Linked DNA regions of Homo sapiens: regions 2, 3, 4, 5, 6 and 7 are each linked to region 1. The links are contacts of gene promoters, found by promoter capture Hi-C in blood cells and fetal thymus (Javierre and others, 2016). All regions are on one chromosome and are shown on one strand. The core of a region is centred on a gene start or on the middle of the fragment in contact, and the rest is flanking DNA. Distances in the headings are between cores, read along the strand shown.

Region 1 (2,700 bases), core at 149-2,648:
ATCTAAATCATACAGGCTTTTTGACAAGGTAATCGTATTTTAGAGACCATTCATTTACGAGAATAACCCAAAGGAAGGAAAATGAGACGCAGATAAACATATTCTGAGTAGTGCTATTTTATAATAGTAAATACTGGAAGGAATCCCAGTTTCTCACAATAAAGTGGGTAAACTCTGGTTATAAAAAATAAAAAAAAAACTATATAGTGTTTTTATATTGTATTTAATAAAAATGTCAAGCATGTGGATTACATCCATAACTAAAATTGGATAATTATTCAATCACAAAACACACATTTAAGCAATATACAAGGTAGAGAGAGACACCTGAGAATAAAAAATACTGTGCCAGAGCAATGCTTCTCAAACCTTAATGTGCATAAGAATCATCAGGGAATTTACAAGCTTTTTCATTTTAGCCTTGTTTGGTTGGGCTCAGGCATTATCTCTAAAATGAGATTCTAAGGTATGCCTATCAAGTTAATTGCTGTAGTGCACTAAAATGGCAATACTGTGTTTCTGCAATGGGACTATGAATTTGTTTTAACTTTCCAAATTATTTATAATACTGCAATGTACTATATAATAATGCTGTATGGTATATTACATAATGATTAAAAACACAGGATTCTACCGAGGACAAGAGAAGTTGGTTAAAATCAAAGCCAGTAAGTGGGCAGAATCAGAACTGGACAGAACGATCCGACTCCAAGGCCAGCATCTTAACTTCAAGCTTCTCAAACTGCGGCAACGCACATTCTCCTGGGGCGGCATTTAACACCGACAATAATGAAACTGGACCTATAACCGAGCAACGAGTTAAGTCGGCAAGGACGGTTTCTAGAAGCTCGAGACAAGAGAAACTGGGGGCTCGCGGCTCCGCCCCCAGATCGTCTCCCCGCCCTCGGGGGCGCTCGGGCGGAAAAGTTTGGAGGCGCGACGGCCCCGGGGCCTTTCTACTCCCCAGCCTTCACGCTCCGTTTCCTTTACTTCGACCTTCATCTCTGTCGGCCTCTCCCAACATCTCGGCCTCCCCCGCGGACCCGAACAGAGGCAAAACAAACGCCAGCTACCCCGCCCCCGCCTCGGCCCCCAGGCCGAGCCCTCGCCTCAGGTCCGGGGAGGCCTCCCCCACAACCTCGGCCCGCAGGCCCGGCGCCCGCGGCCCGACCCCACTCACAAGAGGAAGCTCATCTTCGGTCCTCAGAGGGGAGGCGAGGGGCCCCTGGCCCCCGCCTGGATCAGGATTCGGAGCTGGCTAGAGGGAGCGGACCGTCCTTAGCTCACGGGCAGCGGAAGCCGGGCCGCCGCCGCTCGGAGCCGGGTTTCTGGCCGCTGCGAGCCTTTGCAAACCTCGGCGCCCGCCTTGCCCGCCTACCCCACCTCGCAGACCCGAAATGCGGAACCAACAAAATCTCGCGAGCTAAGGTTTCGCTGCGCCGGGAGGGACTTGTCGCGCCCCCTTTCGCTCCGCCTCGTCCTAGAACTCGGCCAATCATCGCTCTCCAAGCCAGGACCTCCCTCCCCCGGAGGCGTGGCGAGGATGGCGGTCCTGCGGAAGGGGCAGTGGCTGGTCCTGCTCTTAGAGTATCTTGGTGCTGCTGGGTTTCGATCCCGCTCCCTAGGTTATGCAGGGACCTCTATAAGCGCTGCGTACTCCTGCAATTTTTAAAATTGTTAATTTAATTTTTACTTGAAATATATTCACATAGCATAAAATCTGTCCTTTAAACATGTACCCTCTAGTGGTCTTTTTCGGTTTTTTCTTTCTTTTTTTTTTTTTTTTCTGAGGTGTCTCGCTCTGTCGCCCAGACTGGAGTTCACAGTTCACTGCAGCCTGGACTTCCTGGGCTTAAGTGATCCTCTCGCCTCAGCCTCCCGAGTAGCTGAGACCACAGGTGCCTGCCACCACGCCCGGCTAATTTTCTCAAAGTTTTTGCAGAGACGAGCGTCTCACTGTGTTGCCCAAGCTGGTCTTGGACTCCTGAGCTCAAGGGATCCTCCTGGTTTGACCTCCCAAAATGCTGGGATCACAGGTGTGAGCCACTGCCTCCGGCTTTGTTTATGTTTTCAAAGTGTGCCAACCATCAGCACTAATTTTTTTTTTTTTTTTGACAGAGTCTCACTTTGTAACCCAGGCTGGAATGCAGTGGTGCAATCTCGGCCCGTTGCAACCTCTGCCTTCCAGATTCAAGTGATTCTCATGCCTCAGCCTCCCGAGTAGCTGGGATCACAGTCGTGCGCCACCACACCCGTCTAATTTTTGTATTTTTTTTTTTTTTTTTTTTTAGTAAAGACGGGGTTTCGCCATGTTGGCCAGGCTGGTCTCGGTCTTGAACTCCTGACCTCAAGTGGTCCACCCGCCTCGGCCTCCCAAAGCTGGGATTACAGGCGTGAGCCACCGCGCCCAGCCTAACCATAATTTTAGGCCATTTTCATCACCCCGAAAAGAAACCCCATACCTATTAGCAGTTACTCTTTATTACCCACCTCCCTCCTCCCAACCCCTGGCAACCACTACTCTACTTTCTATTTCCATGGATTTACCTAATCTGGACATTTCATATACACTGTGAATGGAAGCATACATTATGTGGTCTTTTGTGACTGACTTCTTTCACTTAGCATAATGTTTTAAAACGCACCCATATTGTAGCATGTATCAAAGCTTCATTACTGGCCAGGCACAGTTGTGGCTTA
Region 2 (2,700 bases), core at 1-2,500, 360 kb after region 1:
CTGAGGTCACAGAATGAATAGATCACCAAGAGTATGAGGCTCCTGCTCTGATTTCCTCCTTGCCTTTCTGGCTGAGGTTCTGAGGGCACCGAGACAGAGGGTTAAATGAACCAGTGGGGGCAGGTCCCTCCAACCACCAGCACTGACTCCTGGGCTCTGAAGAATCACAGAAACACTTTTTATATAAAATAAAATTATACCTAGCAACATATTATAGTAAAAAATGAGGTGGGAGGGCTGGATCTTTTCCCCCACCAAAAGGCTAGAGGTAAAGCTGTATCCCCCTAAACTTAGGGGAGATACTGGAGCTGACCATCCTGACCTCCTATTAAAGAAAATGAGCTGCTGCCATCTTTTGTGGGCAGTTAGTCAGGTGCTGCTCTTTGTGGTGTGGTGGGCTCTGGTCTGTTCTGCTCGGTGCTGGGCCTGGGAGCAAAGATTCCCATGCTTGGCTACAGATACTGACAGCTGGCCTCTGAAGGAGGGTGAAAACTTCTGCTTGACAGTTCCACATCCATAGTGCATGGTCTGATGAGTGCGGTTGCTGACATGGGTTTCTTGGTAAGCTCCTGAGGTAATGGCAGCCTCAGACCCCTGCCATTAGGGGCCAGTGGTGGTTTGCAGAGGGCAGTGGCACTTAGATAATCTGGTTGCTGGTCTGGCCAGGGTAGCGTTCAAACCTCCTGTTGGCCTCTTCACTGAAGGCATCACCTGCAGAGTGGACAGGCAATTTGGGAGGCGCCCTGCACAGAGGGAGGGAGATAGATGCACTGTGGAGAAGGGTGGGTAGAAGTGGAGGGACTGAGAGCTCTACAGGAAGGTGGGAAGATGGAGAAACAAGCTATGGAAAAGAGAATGAACGTCTTTCCCTCCCATCCCCTAATCTTCCTGGGTTGCTCTTCCCATCAAATACCAATGTGGCAGTTGTGCACCCAGATTCTATGTCCATCATATTTGCAGTTACATTTCATTGCATTGTTGGTAAAGTCACTCTCTGCTACTTCAAAGTTTGGGTTGATGACAACCTGTGAGTGAGAAAAAGGCCACTTAACCCAGCGACAATCCTCGAATTCAAAGGTGTCTTTAACGCTCCCCCCACTCACCCATCTGGAAGCCCCAGACTCCAGGTACCTGGAGAATGTAGTTTCCTGGCTTCACATCCGTGATGTCAATCCACTGACAGTCAATGTCATGCCGGTAGAGATCCCAGCAACCCACAGTGATGCCTTGCTCTCCAAAGTTGGCACACTCATACCGCTTGGAGACATCTGGAGGGATTGGCATATGTCAGTGTAAGGAAAGGCTGTGCAATGGATACCATGTGGTTCACTTCAGTCCCCAACTCACCCTCCTGACACTCAGTGTCTTCGAGACAGAAACTAGCTTTGTGGCCCTCAGCCACCTTGGTGCCATTTGGGGTGAGGATATCATAGTGAGTGAAGATGTCCATGCTGTGGTAATGCCTGTGGGGAGAAGGGAACTTCTGTTTCCTTCTCTGCCCCCAGAAGGTTTGCCCCATCCCCCGTGGTCTTGCCCTTCTACTTGACTCCCTACCCTCTCACCCATGGCACTCGTGCCACACCCAGGAGTGGCGCCCAGCCTTGGGCCTGAAGTCAGCTCGTCCCAGGTTGTGGATCTGGGAGGAGAATCGGAGCAGACGCCGGTGACCATAGGGCCAGTTGGCTGAGCGGGCTGAGCTGGCCAGGCAGTTCTCTTCCGCAGCACAGTACAACATATGCAGGGGCCGGTCTTCGATGTAGGCGGTCTCCTGCACCAGTGCTGAGTGCAGCAACAGATCTGATGCAGCTGCACCAAGAAAGGAAGGGGGTGTTAGAAGTCACTGCTGACTTCACAGAGAGGGGTGCTTCCATCCCTCCCTAGTGTGTAAGACTAGTTTTTTGTTTTTGTTTTTGTTTGTTTGTTTGTTTGAGATGGAGTCTCACTCTGTTGCCGAGGCTGGAATGCAGCGGCGTGATCTTGGCTCACTGCAACCTCTGCCACCTGGGTTCAAGTGATTCTCCTGCCTCAGCCTCCCGAGTAGCTGGGATTATAGGCGCCTGCCACTGCGCCTGGCTAATTTTTGTAGTTTTAGTAGAGACAGGGTTTCACCATCTTGGTCAGGCTGGTCTTGAATTCCTGACCTCGTGATCCATCCGCCTTGGCCTCCTAAAGTGCTGGGATTACAGGCGTGAGCCACTGCACCCGGCGAAACTGGCTCTTTTATGGGGAAGAAGTGCCCCTCCAGATTACAGCCCCCTTTCCCTGCAAACGGGTGGCCCAGACACTCCCTTCCCTGGCATGCATCACCCCCTCCTTCACTCACTCTCAGAACAGATGACTCCAGCAGTGAAGCGGGTCCCTGTCCTCTTGCAGGTGATGTGGGTGCCATGATGGGCACACTGATCCAGGGACAGCTCAGTCCCTGTGCAGCGCACTCCACTCATCACCACCTCTGTTATATTCCCAGAGTCCCAGTACCAGGTCTCCTGGGGACATATGCAGATGTTTCTGTAAGGCCCAGGATCCAGCATCTTGGGCCAAGGGACTCATTCCTCAGCCCTCTGCCCAAAACACAGGCTTTGAGACAACAGCCTCGGCTCCCCTTTCCTTCCCACTCACCTGCAGGCCGTGGTTGGCGTAGCCCAGACCCAGTTGCCTACAGGCCACCATGGCCTCCAGGGTCCCCCAGTCATCCCCACA
Region 3 (2,700 bases), core at 97-2,596, 380 kb after region 1:
TACAGCAAGCCCCCGTCAACATGCTTCCCCCAACCCAAACAATCAATCCAACAAGGCAGCTTTGTTCTGGGTTGGGGACCCAGGGGCAGCGCCTCCCGGAGGAGCCCCCTCCCTTAGGGCGCTCCTGGCGGCCCTGTTCGAACACCCGTAGCCCCCGCCTCCGGTATGTGCCTCCTCCGTGTACTCTGTCTCACTTGCCCTTTGACAAGAATCAAACTCTCAGTTGGGTGGCTTCCCCTCGACTCCATCCCACACCACCCGTTTTCCCTGGTCCCTCCACATCCTCTCCATCCCCTACTCATTCCCTCTGCGGTTAGCGTGACTCCCCCTACCTTGGCCGAGCAGGACCCTAAGGGCTGGGAGAAGAGTGCTGGTCCTGGAGATCAGTCCTAGGACTTCCAAAAAAAAAAAAAAATGCTCGGCCAGGGGAGACTGGACCCCCCTCTCTCCCCCTTCTCCGTTCGTCCCTCCCACATCCCCCTGAGCCCTCCCACATTCCGCCTTCTCCTTCCATTCCTCCCGGCCAGTTCCCTCCTCTCCTCCTCTGGGTCCTCCCTCCCCGTGGAGCTGGCCACTGCCGCGCCCCCTCCCCCTCCCTGGCCCTCCCGGCTCGTTCAATGAAGCTTTCTCTTCCCGCGGCATGGAGGCCAGGCCTCTGCGGTCAGGGAGCTGACATGCAAGCGGCGGCCGGGCGGCGGGGCGGCCCCGGTGGTGGCGGGAAGCGGTTCAACCCCAGCCCTCCCTCCGAGTCCCGGGCCAGCGGAGTCTAAACAGCCCGGCTCGGGCGGGGCTGGGGGCGGGCCCGGCCAGGGTAAATAAAGCCCCGGAGGCCCGTGTGGGTCTCTCCGGTGCCCGGGGCGCTTTCGGGGTGATGTCATGGCTTTCACTCTGACGTCACCTTGGGCATATGACGTCACGCGCAGCCACCACGCCCAGAGGCCAGGGCCCTCGCGCCAAAACCGAGGACTTTCGGTGGAGCCACTGGCGCGCCCCCACGACGGCGGGTAGGGGCCTGGGGTGCTGCAGCTCCCGGCTAATCCGGGGGTCTCCACCATTCCTTCTCGCTCCTCTCCCTCACCCCACCGCGACCCCCCCAGCGGCTGCCGGCGGGGGCCGGGGAGGGGCGGAAACTCCTCCAGGGAACCCGGCCCCGCCTCCCGCCCCGCCTCCCGCCGCAGGGCCAGGAAGCGCGGAAGGAACCGCCGGGGGCCATGGACGGAGCAGTGATGGAAGGGCCGCTTTTTTTGCAGAGTCAGCGCTTTGGGACCAAGGTAGTCTGGCGCATGGATGCCGAACCTTATCCGGGCTAGTAGTGGGTGAGAGAGCCCAGAAACAGGGAGAGGTGGGCAGCGGGCTGGAGAGCGGCGCCGGGAGTTGGAGAGCCTGTGACTTTCCCGTGAAGTTGCTTTGCACACTCCCGGGAAGCGTCTGTAGTCTAGGGGTTCTGGTCCTGGGGAGACGGAGTGGCATCGTCCTTGGGAAACTTCGCCCCCAACCCCGTTTGGAAGCCCCAGATCCCAAATCGACTTGCGCCGCAACCTCCTTCCCCGTCGGGACCCGGGCCGCCTGCGCACGCCACTCCCTCTCGAGCACTCTCTCTCTCTCCCTAGAGGTGGAGGAAGACCTGGGCCGTGCTCTACCCGGCCAGTCCCCACGGCGTAGCGCGGCTCGAGTTCTTTGACCATAAGGGGTCGAGCTCTGGGGGTGGCCGAGGGAGCTCGCGCCGCCTGGACTGCAAAGTGATCCGTCTGGCTGAGTGTGTGAGTGTGGCCCCCGTCACCGTGGAGACCCCCCCTGAGCCCGGCGCCACTGCCTTCCGCCTGGACACTGCTCAGCGCTCGCACCTGCTGGCGGCCGACGCGCCGTCCAGTGCAGCCTGGGTGCAGACGCTGTGCCGAAACGCCTTTCCGGTGAGGAGCTGCGGCGATGCGGGGTGGGGGCAGTTACAGAGGCAGAGAAATGGGGCTGCCTCAGACCGACCCCCGCTCCCCGCTGAGGAAATTACGGGTTTCTCGATGCTCTCTACTACAGAAAGGCAGCTGGACTCTGGCGCCTACCGATAACCCACCTAAGCTTTCTGCCCTGGAGATGCTGGAGAACTCCTTGTACAGCCCTACCTGGGAAGGTAGACGCCTCAGAAGCCCGGGCAGGGATGGAGTGAAGAGGAGGAGGGCCGAGGGCCTTTGGGAAGTGGGTGGATACCCAGGGGCCCATGGGGAAGTAAGAAGTAGGAAGGCCCTGAGATCTGGCTTCCGAGTGAGTGCTTGGACACTATGCTCATGAGTCCTCTGGGTCCCCACTGCTGCCCCCGTCCCTCCCCCGCAGCTGTCTAATCGTGTATGCCTTCCAGGATCCCAATTCTGGGTAACGGTGCAGAGGACTGAGGCCGCCGAGCGCTGTGGCCTGCATGGCTCCTACGTGCTGAGGGTGGAGGCTGAAAGGCTGACTCTCCTGACCGTGGGGGCCCAGAGTCAGATACTGGAGCCACTCCTGTCCTGGCCCTACACTCTGTTGCGTCGCTATGGCCGGGACAAGGTGCAGGGGCTGTCCGGGAGGGCTTCCTGGGTTGGGCAGCTGTGGGAGGGGTGGGGCAGGACAGAAAGTGGGAAGCTCTGACCTTTGGATCCCCCTTTCTTGCCTACCCGGTGACCCCGCGTCTGTTCGCAGGTGGTCTCTTCTTTGTAGATACCCTAACTAGTG
Region 4 (2,700 bases), core at 53-2,552, 330 kb before region 1:
AGCTCACTGCAACCTCTGCCTCCCCGACTCAAGTGATTCTCCTACCTCAGCCTCCCGAGTGACTGGGACTACAGGCATCCGCCACCATACCCGGCTAATTTTTGTATTTTTAGTAGAGATGGGGTTTCACCATGTTGGCCAAGATGGTCTCAAACTCCTGACCTCAAGTGATCCGCCTGCCTCGGCCTTCCAAAGTGCTGGGATTACAGGCGTGAGCCGCTGCACCCAGCCATTTCAAGCTATTTTCAAATGATTCTTTTTAGGAAGTCAGTTAAAACATGTGGAGAAACTGCCAGGGCGCTGTCAGTGGCCAGCTGTGAATACATACTGCAGCCACTCACAGGCTGTTGTGTAGCTGTCTGCTGGTCTCTATTCTGGACTCTGATGTTGAAAATCAGCAGAGGGATGAACAGCTATGAGGTATATACTTCTAAAGCACCAAGTGAGTGTAAGCTTTAAGGAGGAGGTTATTACTTAGCATTTCTTTCTTTCTTTTTTTTTTTAATCCAAATGCCTCTCAAGTATTTCTTATTAGCTTAAAATGTCACTCTGTGTTGAACAAATGCACAAAAACCATAAAAATTTCAGAGGCCTCATTTTGGGTTAAAATTCAGTAGAAGGCAAGACGTGGTGGCTCATGCCTGTAATCCTAGCACTTTGGGAGCCTGAAGTGGGTGATCGCTTGAGCCCAGGAGTTCGAGACCAGCCTGGGCAACATGGTGAAACCCCATCTCTACAAAAAATACAAAAATTAGCTGGGTCTCTACAAAAAATACAAAAATTAGTGTGGTGGCACGCACCTCTGGTTTCAGCTACTCGGGAGGCTGAGATGGGAGGATCACCTGCGCCCAGGGAGATTGAGGCTGCAGTGAGCCATGATTGACCACTACAGTCCAGCCTAGGTGACAGAGTGAGACTCTCTAAGAAAAAAAAAAAAAATTCAGTAGAGACCCCCAAGATAGCAGGTATAAGTTTGGATCTGGTTCTATTTTATAGCCTTACTTGAAATATAGAATATGTACATGACACAGAGAGAAGAATAAAACTGTCTGTGATACAGGTTAGGAGAACACAGATAGTAAGTTGCATCAAGATTTCAGGCCAGACATTGTGGCTCACACCTGGAATCCCAGCGCTTCGGGAGGCCGAGGTGGGCAGATTGTTTGAGCCCAGGAGTTCAAGACTAGCCTGGGCAACATGGCGAAACCCTGTCTCTACAAAAAATACAAAAATTAGCCAGGTGTGGTGGTGCACACCTGTGGTCCCACCTACTCAGGAGGCTAAGGTGGGAGGATTGCTTGAGCCTGGGAGGTCAAGGCTGCAGTGAGCTGTGATCATGCCATTGCACTTCAGCCTGGGAAACAGAATGAGACCCTGTCTCAAAAAAAAAAAAAAAAAGATTTCAGTGAAGAGGAAAGTGCATTAGGTAGAGTCATTGTCGGGAGGGTATTGAGAGGATTGGGATTTTAATTGTCCTTGGAGATAGGTATACTGTGGCCAGATAGAAAGGGGTGGTGACTACACTCCGTGGGTATAAAGATACTGAGGAAAGCATGAATTCTGTGTTAGGTAATCAGGCCACAGCAGAAGTACATTTTGGAAATCTCCATGCTAAAAAGCCTTGTTCTCCTGAAGTGTGAAGTCACTGAGGTGTGAAGTGTTAGCCTAAATTTTCTCTCTTTGTAGAAGAAGGAAGCAGAGGAATTGGCCCGGAACATGGCCATCCAGCAAGAGCTGGAAAAGGAAAAACAGAGGGTAGCACAACAGAAGCAGCAGCAATTGGAACAGGAACAGTTCCATGCCTTCGAGGAGATGATCCGGAACCAGGAGCTAGAAAAAGAGCGACTGAAAATTGTACAGGAGTTTGGGAAGGTAGACCCTGGCCTAGGTGGCCCGCTAGTGCCTGACTTGGAGAAGCCCTCCTTAGATGTGTTCCCCACCTTAACAGTCTCATCCATACAGCCTTCAGACTGTCACACAACTGTAAGGCCAGCTAAGCCACCTGTGGTGGACAGGTCCTTGAAACCTGGAGCACTGAGCAACTCAGAAAGTAGTAAGTGCATTTGCTGATGTCCTCTTCCTTCTCAGTTGCAGCCAAACAGTATCATTCTGACGGGGTCAACCTAAGATTACCTCCCTGATCCCACTCATTAAGCTTTGGTCACAGAAACCCATCTGATAAGTATTGCTGTACTGTGTCCTAATACACTGGCTATGTTATAAAAGTGGCCTTTGCTGAAACCTAGTCTGGTCGATTTTCTGAAGAGCTAATATTATTCTTGAAAGTCAGACTGTCAACTTTTTAGTGAAAGGAAAAGAATGTGCCAAACCGAATTCATAATCCTCAGATAACATCATCAGACTGCTGTGTGACTCTGTGTCCCCTGCTCTGACTTTGTTACCTCTCTAGCAATTCAGATCTTGCTGTTGAATACGCAAAAGCAGAACATCTTTCCCCTCCCACTTTTTTTTTTTAAATATGAAAATATAGCTGTGAGAGACACTTCCTAACTTTAGCTTGCTGGCTGTCTCACAGAGTTTCTCCATGGTGTTCAGAAACTGGGTCCATTCTTGGCATTTTTTATGAGCTGCTTTGTTCATGCCTTTTTTGGGGGACTACACTGTATTTTTTATTTTGTTGTGGTTTGGCATTTAACTTCTTCCAGAAGAGTAAGTTCAGAAGTAAATAACTGCCCAGAT
Region 5 (2,700 bases), core at 137-2,636, 450 kb before region 1:
AAATTTTTGTTTACTCATATGTAAACTGTCTTAGTAAGAGGCAGGGTTAAACCTCAACTCTCTGTCCAGAGCTCTCTTCACTATTATTTGGGTTTATTACTAACCACTGGCTTGCAGGAATTTAGCCTCCAACCCAACACTGAGGAACACATATGTTATTATGACACGGTCAACAGAAATAGGAAAGTGCACATTACATTGTTATTTGGGGAAAGGTTGAAAATAATTTCAGTAGATAGAGTTCTTGTCTTCATTTTTCCCAGTTTGTAGAGGTGAACTGCTTTGTTTGCTGCCACAAGTATCTGAAATGGATCAACAATCTACCAAAGCAAGGAAAAAGAATTAATTACACATGGAGAATCTGCAGTGCCTGAAAACACATGGTAACTCATGGTTAACTCCAGTGTCAAGCTGTTTTACTTCATCACAATTCTTACGGTCTGTATTTTCAAAACTATTATCCCGGCTGGGCACGGTGGCTCACACCTGTAATCCTAGCACTTTGGGAGGCCAAGGTGGGTAGATCACCTGACGTCAGGGTTCAAGACCAGCCTGGCCAACACGGCGAAACCCTCTCTACTAAAAATACAAAAATTAGTCAGGCGTGGTGGCACGCACCTGTAATCCCAGCAACTCAGGAGGCTGAGGCAGGACAATTGCTTGAACCCGGGAGGCAGAGGTTGCCGTGAGCCAAGATCGCGCCATTGCACTCCAGCCTGGGCAACAAGAGTGAAACTGTCTCAAAAAAAAAAAAAACAAAAAACAACTATTATCCCAAGGGCCTGGGTAGTCAGGAAATCACAGAATTTTAAAGCTGCAAGGAACTTATGCAAATAGTAAAATTTTTTTAAATAACATTAATTGAGGGCTAATATTATGGGCATGATCATATTGCAAACATTTTACTTGTAATATTTTCTTTAATCCTCAAAACTACCCTATGAAATTGACACTATTATTAGTAGTAGTAGCAGTAGTAGTAGTATGTAATTGATGAGGAAATTGAGGCAAAGAATGTCTGGGTTTGAATCCCATCTCTGTCACCTATCACCTAGGAAACTTATGCAAGTTCATTAGCATTTTATTTGTTAGAGACCGATGAAACAGTATTCACTCCATAGGCTGTTGTGAAGATTAAGCAAGTTAGTATACGTAAAGCACTTGGAACAATGCTAGGAATGCAGTAAGCACTATATAAAGGTTGGTTATGTCTTGTTCAAAGGCCTAAGTAGTAGGTCTGGGATTAATTCCCGGTAACATGATCGCACTGCGTGTGCCCTGTTTTTTTGTTTTTTTTTTTTTTTGGAGACAGACAGAGTCTCTCGCTCCATTGCCCAGGCTGGAATGCAGTGGCTCAATCTCAATTCACTGTAACCTCCGCCTCCCAGGTTCAAATGATTCTTGTGCCTCAGCCTCCCGAGTAGCTGGGACTACCAGCACACACCACCACACCCAGCTACTTTTTGTATTTTTAGTAGAGACACGGTTTCACTATGTAGGCCAGGCTGGTCTCAAACTCCGGGCCTCAAGCAATCCACCCACCTTGGCCTCTGTGTGTACTCTTAACCACTACACTATTCCTCCTCTACAGACTGTCTTGTTAGGAACCCCCATTTTAAAGATGAGAAGCTGGAGATCCAGGCATTTCCCATATTAGACCCAGACCACAACCTTTCCTATTTCCTAGGGCAGGACCTGGCACTTCTGCCTCTATTCACTGTTATAGTCAAAGTTGGCTGCATCTGACTTGGACAAGAATTTTTTCCCTAACCGTGACAGATTTTTAGGCTACCCTATAACATCACAAATATTAATGTATACTTAAATGCCCTGTATGGCTCATTCATTCTTTTTTTTTTTTTTTTTTTTTGAGGCGGATTCTTGGTCTGTTGCCCAGGCTGGAGTGCAGTGGCACAATCTCGGCTCACTGCAACCTCTGCCTCCCAGGCTCAAGCGATTCTCCTGCCTCAGTCTCCTGAGTACAGGTGCCCACCACCATGCTCAGCTAATTTTTGTATTTTTAGTAGAGACAGGGTTTCACCATATTGGCCAGGCTGGTCTCAAACTCCTGACCTCATGATCTGCCTGCCTCGGCCTCCCAAAGGGCTGGGATTACAGGCGTGAGCTACCATGCCTGGCCATTTTTTTTTTCCAGACAGAGTTTTGCTCGTCGCCCAGGCTGGAGTGCAATGGCGCAATCTTGGCTCACTGCAACCTCTGCCTCCAGGGTTCAAATGATTTTCCTGCCTCAGCCTCCCGAGTAGCTGGGATTATAGGCGCCCGCCACCACGCCCAGCTAATTTTTGTATTTTTAGTTGAGACAGGGTTTCACCATGTTGGCCAGGCTGGTCTTCAACTCCTGACCTCAGATGATCCACCCGCCTCGGCCTCCTAAAGTGCTGGCATTACAGGCGTGAGCCACCGCACCCAGCAGGCTCATTCATTCTTAAAATTTATATTTACCACTGTAGGATTTATCAGTGATCCATCGATGGTGCCTTCCATGGCCTTTCTTCTCAAGTCTCCCGCATTTTTTACATCTTTAAATAACAGAAGGGTTACCCTGCATTCGGGAAATAGGTCCAGCTGATGTGTTAACTGCATTTCACAGATAAGCAGGATTCTACTGCACACAAAATGAAAAGACCAAAAGATTTCATTTAAAAGTTAACATCAGAACTCATTTCTTAATAAATATTC
Region 6 (2,700 bases), core at 6-2,505, 320 kb before region 1:
ACGGTGGCTCACGCCTATAATCCCAATACTTTGGGAGACTGAGGCAGGCAGATTACTTGAGGTCAGGAGTTCAAGTCCAGGCTGACCAACATGGCGAAACCCCACCTCTACTAAAAACACAAAATTAGCCAGGCATGGTGGCTCGTGCCTGTAATCCCAGCTACTGGGAAAGCTAAGGCAGAAGAATCGCTTGAACCCAGGAGGCGGGGGTTGCAGTGAGCCGAGATCGTGCCACTGCACTCCAGCCTGGGCAACAGAGCAAGACCCTATATGAAGAAAAAAAAAAAAAAGACTTTTCAGAATTTTCTAGGACTCCACCTTTCTTTTTTCCTATTGCAGAGCTGCAGCCACGTGACTGTTGTGGACAGAGCAGTGACCATCACAGACCTTCGATGAGCGTTTGAGTCCAACACCTTCCAAGAACAACAAAACCATATCAGTGTACTGTAGCCCCTTAATTTAAGCTTTCTAGAAAGCTTTGGAAGTTTTTGTAGATAGTAGAAAGGGGGGCATCACCTGAGAAAGAGCTGATTTTGTATTTCAGGTTTGAAAAGAAATAACTGAACATATTTTTTAGGCAAGTCAGAAAGAGAACATGGTCACCCAAAAGCAACTGTAACTCAGAAATTAAGTTACTCAGAAATTAAGTAGCTCAGAAATTAAGAAAGAATGGTATAATGAACCCCCATATACCCTTCCTTCTGGATTCACCAATTGTTAACATTTTTTTCCTCTCAGCTATCCTTCTAATTTCTCTCTAATTTCAATTTGTTTATATTTACCTCTGGGCTCAATAAGGGCATCTGTGCAGAAATTTGGAAGCCATTTAGAAAATCTTTTGGATTTTCCTGTGGTTTATGGCAATATGAATGGAGCTTATTACTGGGGTGAGGGACAGCTTACTCCATTTGACCAGATTGTTTGGCTAACACATCCCGAAGAATGATTTTGTCAGGAATTATTGTTATTTAATAAATATTTCAGGATATTTTTCCTCTACAATAAAGTAACAATTAACTTATGTTTTTGTGCTTCAGAGTGATCCATTTGATCAAGCATTGTATAAACAGGTTAAAAAAAAGGTATGGTTGTTTTGGAAAGGTGAAGGAAAAATGGAATTTGAGATATACTGACACTGATGGTGTGTCCCAGTTCACTTTTAATTACTCCTTGTTTTTTATCTGCCTGTTGCCATCTTCCAGAGGTGTTGTGAAGTCATCTCTGTTCTTTTGGTGCTGTCTCAAATGGGTCAACCATTCACTTCCTCCTTATGCCCTCCATGCTTTTGGCTGAGGATAATGAAGCCTTTGTTTGGAGTACCAGGTTACACTCCAATAAATGATTACATTTCCCAGCCACCCCACCCTACCAATTTCATTGTGTTGGCTGTTCTTTTCTGACTAAGGCAATACCTAGGAAAACGCTTGAAGCAGCAATTGTTACTGCAATTTTCTGTGAGCTGAGCCTGGTGTTCTAGGTGGCCTAGAAATAATGGTGTCATTTGTGACACCTCGAGTGAGGGCAGGAGAGTAAATACTTTGGCTAGGAGAAGAGTGATTTATTCTTTATCAGAATTCTAGGTGGGGGAGGGAGAATCTGTGAATGCATAAAGTTTTCTTCATTTTTAAATTTTGTCTCAGTCTTTATTGCTTAGGTTAGTGGTCCTTGAACTTGTCCCCTGAAAGAGCCCAGTTCTCTATATTCTTTTTCTTCTCTTGGGTTCTTAATTCCCCATATAGTGGAAATTCCTTCTTTGCTGTTTTGGTATGGGTGGGTCTGGGGGCCAGCTGGGCTTGGACAAGCCATTTCCTGCTGCAGCCCAGAGCAGCCTGGCTGTTCCACCTTGCTCTAAACAGTCCTGAAATTGCCCAGTCCTCTGCTTTTGGGAAATCCATCCCCTTCTTCCCATTCTTTGTCTACCACTTAGCTTAGGGCTTTCTTACCTTTTATTTCGACTGTAGCCGTTGGCTTTTACCAAGTCTCTTTGTTTTTAGCATTTCTTCATTCCAGTCTGTTCTGCACACTTTGATCAGGAGAAGCTTCTCACATTCCAGCCATGTTCATGTTTTCTCTCTTGCTCAAAAACCTGCAATAGCTTCCCATTGCTGAAAATCTAAATTTAGCTTTTAGTCAGAACTTTCCACTTAAAGTTCTTACCCCTGGCTATATATTCAAATATCTAGGGAGCAATTTAAAAAATACTGATGCCTGTGTTCTACCCCCCACCAATTAAAGCTGAATCTCTAGGGTGGAGCCTCAGATGTTGTTTCTGCATTTGTCTTTCAAGCTGCTAGAATTCTCAAGTACAACCAGGGTTGACAACCACTGCATTGGTCTTTGATACCTAAGAATTGTGAGCTCTCTTATCCGTCTCTGCCCACCAAAGACATTCAGCCAGGTCAACAACATATCATACGTTGCAACCACATTGATCACAGACTGATCACCAAACTGCTATATTTTCTTTTCTCTTCCTCTAGGCACAAGATATCTTAGTGGCTAGATGGGTGCAGGAAATCAGTCTGTAGATCCCTCTTCATATCTGCTGCAGCCTAGCCACTGCAGAGGCACTCTGCATAGGATGGTCTAAGTGTCTCTGTCTTCATCTTACCTCTGTGGAGGAGACGTGGAATCAAGCCAGCCCACAAGCCCTGAGACTGGATAGGCCGGAGAGAAAGAGGAGTAGCCAGAGCGGTCGGG
Region 7 (2,700 bases), core at 44-2,543, 430 kb before region 1:
GGCTCCATCTGGAGGCAGGAAACAATCACCCCTGGCCAATAGACTCAGTCCCTAACACAGAGACCAGGTGCGATGTAAATGGTGGGGCCTTTCCCACTTAGGACACTATGAGAACCACATCCTTGAAGGTTTGAGGAAAGGGGTTACTCAGGTTAAGAGCCTCAATAAGGTACAGGAAGTACAGCGGCAAGCATATGAGGACCCTTTGTAATTCCCAGAAAGACTCCATCAGACATGTGGAAAGTAGGTTGACGCTAACTAACCCTGAGGCACCGGACAATCAGAGAATGGTCAATGTGACCTTTATCAGCCACAGTGCCCTGATATTCAAAGAAAACTGCAAAAGGTAAATGGGATCCTTGGGTTGCCAATCTCACATTTAGTGGACTTAGCTTTTAAAGTGTACTATGCTCAGGATGAGGCTCAGGAAAGTGCAAATTGAAGCAACAAGTAACTCACTGGCAGCTGTGCTTGACTACCAACCTAGGGGAAAAGGAAGAAATCAAAGAGCGGCTCACGCCCCCTTCAGAAAAAAAACCAATATGCCTATTGTAAGAAGGAGGGACACTGGAAAAAGGGCTGTCCCAAATTGACCAAAGCAGCTAGCAAGTGCAGTGTCCCTCAAAATCAGATGAGGAGAGAGAATAATATTTAGATGAAGACTGATGTGTCCCAGGGACTCCCTTAGACTTGGAGCAACCAGTGGCTATATCCCCACAGGATTCCTAGATACAACTGACAGTGGGGAACAGAATGATTGACTTTTTACTTGACACAGTGCCACATATTAATTAATTAACAATTGTCTCTCTCCAGCTTTGGGAAAAACCATTACTGTTACACGGATATTGGGAGACACCATTATCCCTTTCTACAATCTTCAGGTTACCATTTACGAGAGACCGGCCTAGGGCATAGTTTCTTGTACATGCTTAATGCCCAGTGCCCCTCCTGGGCTGGGATTTGCTTGCCAAATTGTATGCTCAACTTGTCTTTCCCCCCAGATGCCTAGATATAATGATTCCTTCTGAACAAGTTTGCAGGTTTCAAATACTCCTGCTGCAACCAGAAAACGAAGAGGTTCAGGACATTCCAGAAGAAATTCTCACACAGGTAAGGAGAGATGTTTGGGCCCAAGGGAAGCCAGGGAGAGTGGTCACAGCCAAACCCATAAAAATTAAAAGAGAGACACAGAATACCCATTAAAGGAAGTGGCATGAAAGGGTATTCAACCACTCTTGGAAGGCTTTTTTGGCACAAGGACTGATTTGGTCCTGTAATTCTCCCTTTAACATTCCTGTTCTACGGTGGGCAGCAAGCCACCCAGGTGCTGAGGCAAGAGACCGAGGGCACAAGTTGTTCCAGTATAATAAAATATATAAAACAACAAGAGTTATACTAGATCTAAATCATAGACATGATTATATATGAATATCATTAATCATTAGTTTGTAGCAATTACTCTTTATTCCAATACTGTAATAATCCTCGCTCTATAATCATAACCTAGGAAAAACCAGGCCATACAGAGATAGGAACCGAAGGGACATAGTGAGTGAGAAGTGATCAGAAGACAAGAGTGCAAGCCTTCTGTTATGCCCGGACAGGGCCACCAGAGGGCTCCTTGGTCTAGTGGTAATGCCAGCGTCTGGGAAGACGCCCATTGCCAAGCAGACCGTGGTCTAGCAGTAGCATCAGTGTCAAGGAAAAACACCCGCTACTTAGCAGACCGGGAAAGGGAGTCTCCCTTTCCCTGGGGGAGTTTAGAGGAGATTCTACTCCTCCACCTCTTATGGAGGGCCTGACATCAGTCAGGCCCGCCCGCAGTTATCCGGAGGCCTGACCCTGTCTCCCTGTGATGCTGTGCTTCAGTGGTCACGCTCCTAGTCTGCTTTCAAGTTCCATCCTGTACACCTGGCTCTGCCTTTTAGATAACAGTAGCAAAATTAATGAAAGTACTAAAAGTCTCTGATATGCAGAAATAATGGCGTAAGCTGTCTCTCTCTCGCTCTCCCTCTCTCTGCCTCGGCTGCCAGGCAGGGAAGGGCCCCCTGTCCAGTGGACACGTGACTCACGTGACCTTATCAATCACTAGAGATGACTCACACTCTTTACCCTGCCCCTTTTGCCTTGTATCCAATAAATAACAGTGCAGCCAGGCATTCGGGGCTACTACTGGTCTCTGCATCTTGGTGGTAGTGGTCCCCCAGGCCCAGCTGTCTTTTATCTCTTTGTCTTGTGTCTTTATTTCTACAATCTCTCGTCTCCACACATGGGGAGAAAAACCCACTGACCCTGTGGGGCTGGTCCCTACATCTTACCATCATGCAAGTCCCATTAAGACAACTACAGTTTCGGCTGGGCGTGGTGGCTCACGCCTGTAATCCCAGCACTTTGGGAGGCCGAGGCGGGCGGATCACGAGGTCAGGAGATCAAGACCATCCTGGCTAACATGGTAAACCCCATCTCTACTAAAAATACAAAAAAGTTAGCCAGGCGTGGTGGCAGGCACCTGTAGTCCCAGCTACTCAGGAGGCTGAGGCAGGAGAATGGCTTGAACCTGGGAGGCGGAGCTTGCAGTGAGCCGAAATCGTGCCACTGCACTCCAGGCTGGGTGACAGAGCGAGATTCGTCTCAAAAAAAAAAAAGACAACTACAGTTTGTACAAGACTTAGGGCCAGTAATGAAACAGTCTAGGAC

The links. Contacts are between HindIII fragments. The CHiCAGO score rates a contact against its expected background, and 5 or more counts as called.
Region 2: a contact is called between a fragment that was not itself captured here and the fragment with the promoter of MOB1A in region 1, in 4 of 17 cell types (activated CD4 T cells, fetal thymus, total CD8 T cells and 1 more). The highest score is 5.9, in activated CD4 T cells.
Region 3: a fragment that was not itself captured here is called in contact with the fragment with the promoter of MOB1A in region 1 in 1 of 17 cell types (fetal thymus); the score reaches 6.9 in fetal thymus.
Region 4: a fragment that was not itself captured here is called in contact with the fragment with the promoter of MOB1A in region 1 in 11 of 17 cell types (activated CD4 T cells, non-activated CD4 T cells, total CD4 T cells and 8 more); the score reaches 11.1 in activated CD4 T cells.
Region 5: a fragment that was not itself captured here is called in contact with the fragment with the promoter of MOB1A in region 1 in 5 of 17 cell types (fetal thymus, non-activated CD4 T cells, total CD8 T cells and 2 more); the score reaches 9.8 in fetal thymus.
Region 6: a contact is called between a fragment that was not itself captured here and the fragment with the promoter of MOB1A in region 1, in 4 of 17 cell types (activated CD4 T cells, non-activated CD4 T cells, total CD8 T cells and 1 more). The highest score is 9.8, in activated CD4 T cells.
Region 7: a fragment that was not itself captured here is called in contact with the fragment with the promoter of MOB1A in region 1 in 1 of 17 cell types (activated CD4 T cells); the score reaches 5.2 in activated CD4 T cells.

The regions. Positions count from the first base shown.
Region 1 is chr2:74,177,481-74,180,180 of GRCh38, forward strand. MOB1A (MOB kinase activator 1A) reads right to left here and starts at 1,399. Exons shown (of 6, transcript NM_018221.5): 1 at 1,181-1,399. The coding sequence starts at 1,194. RefSeq lists an enhancer at 424-1,107 and a silencer at 971-1,160. The HindIII fragment of the contact is 1,935 bases long and covers 732-2,666 here.
Region 2 is chr2:74,532,969-74,535,668 of GRCh38, forward strand. It overlaps HTRA2 (HtrA serine peptidase 2), which reads left to right. Exons shown (of 8, transcript NM_013247.5): 8 at 1-351. The coding sequence ends at 17. LOXL3 (lysyl oxidase like 3) reads right to left here. Exons shown (of 14, transcript NM_032603.5): 8 at 2,620-2,700; 9 at 2,324-2,486; 10 at 1,563-1,806; 11 at 1,348-1,463; 12 at 1,132-1,268; 13 at 914-1,025; 14 at 1-711. The coding sequence ends at 638. Among named protein-coding and RNA genes, the nearest start is that of HTRA2, 4.4 kb to the left of the region's middle. The HindIII fragment of the contact is 3,138 bases long and covers 1-2,700 here.
Region 3 is chr2:74,553,544-74,556,243 of GRCh38, forward strand. LOXL3 (lysyl oxidase like 3) reads right to left here and starts at 399. Exons shown (of 14, transcript NM_032603.5): 1 at 333-399. It overlaps DOK1 (docking protein 1), which reads left to right and starts at 1,177. Exons shown (of 5, transcript NM_001381.5): 1 at 1,177-1,271; 2 at 1,611-1,910; 3 at 2,032-2,125; 4 at 2,351-2,535. The coding sequence starts at 1,212. RefSeq lists a silencer at 519-1,268 and enhancers at 1,277-1,794, 1,419-1,478. The HindIII fragment of the contact is 1,450 bases long and covers 622-2,071 here.
Region 4 is chr2:73,845,701-73,848,400 of GRCh38, forward strand. It overlaps STAMBP (STAM binding protein), which reads left to right. Exons shown (of 10, transcript NM_213622.4): 5 at 1,687-2,053. The region is part of intron 1 of LOC112268419 (a long non-coding RNA gene); the gene reads right to left. Among named protein-coding and RNA genes, the nearest start is that of STAMBP, 18 kb to the left of the region's middle. The HindIII fragment of the contact is 1,702 bases long and covers 452-2,153 here.
Region 5 is chr2:73,731,966-73,734,665 of GRCh38, forward strand. TPRKB (TP53RK binding protein) reads right to left here. Exons shown (of 5, transcript NM_016058.5): 2 at 2,464-2,626; 3 at 198-320. The coding sequence starts at 2,604. Among named protein-coding and RNA genes, the nearest start is that of TPRKB, 4.0 kb to the right of the region's middle. The HindIII fragment of the contact is 4,504 bases long and covers 1-2,700 here.
Region 6 is chr2:73,861,864-73,864,563 of GRCh38, forward strand. It overlaps STAMBP (STAM binding protein), which reads left to right. Exons shown (of 10, transcript NM_213622.4): 10 at 340-2,700. The coding sequence ends at 396. Among named protein-coding and RNA genes, the nearest start is that of ACTG2, 30 kb to the right of the region's middle. The HindIII fragment of the contact is 1,563 bases long and covers 475-2,037 here.
Region 7 is chr2:73,752,444-73,755,143 of GRCh38, forward strand. No RefSeq gene overlaps it. Among named protein-coding and RNA genes, the nearest start is that of TPRKB, 16 kb to the left of the region's middle. RefSeq lists a silencer at 1,555-1,738. The HindIII fragment of the contact is 4,937 bases long and covers 1-2,700 here.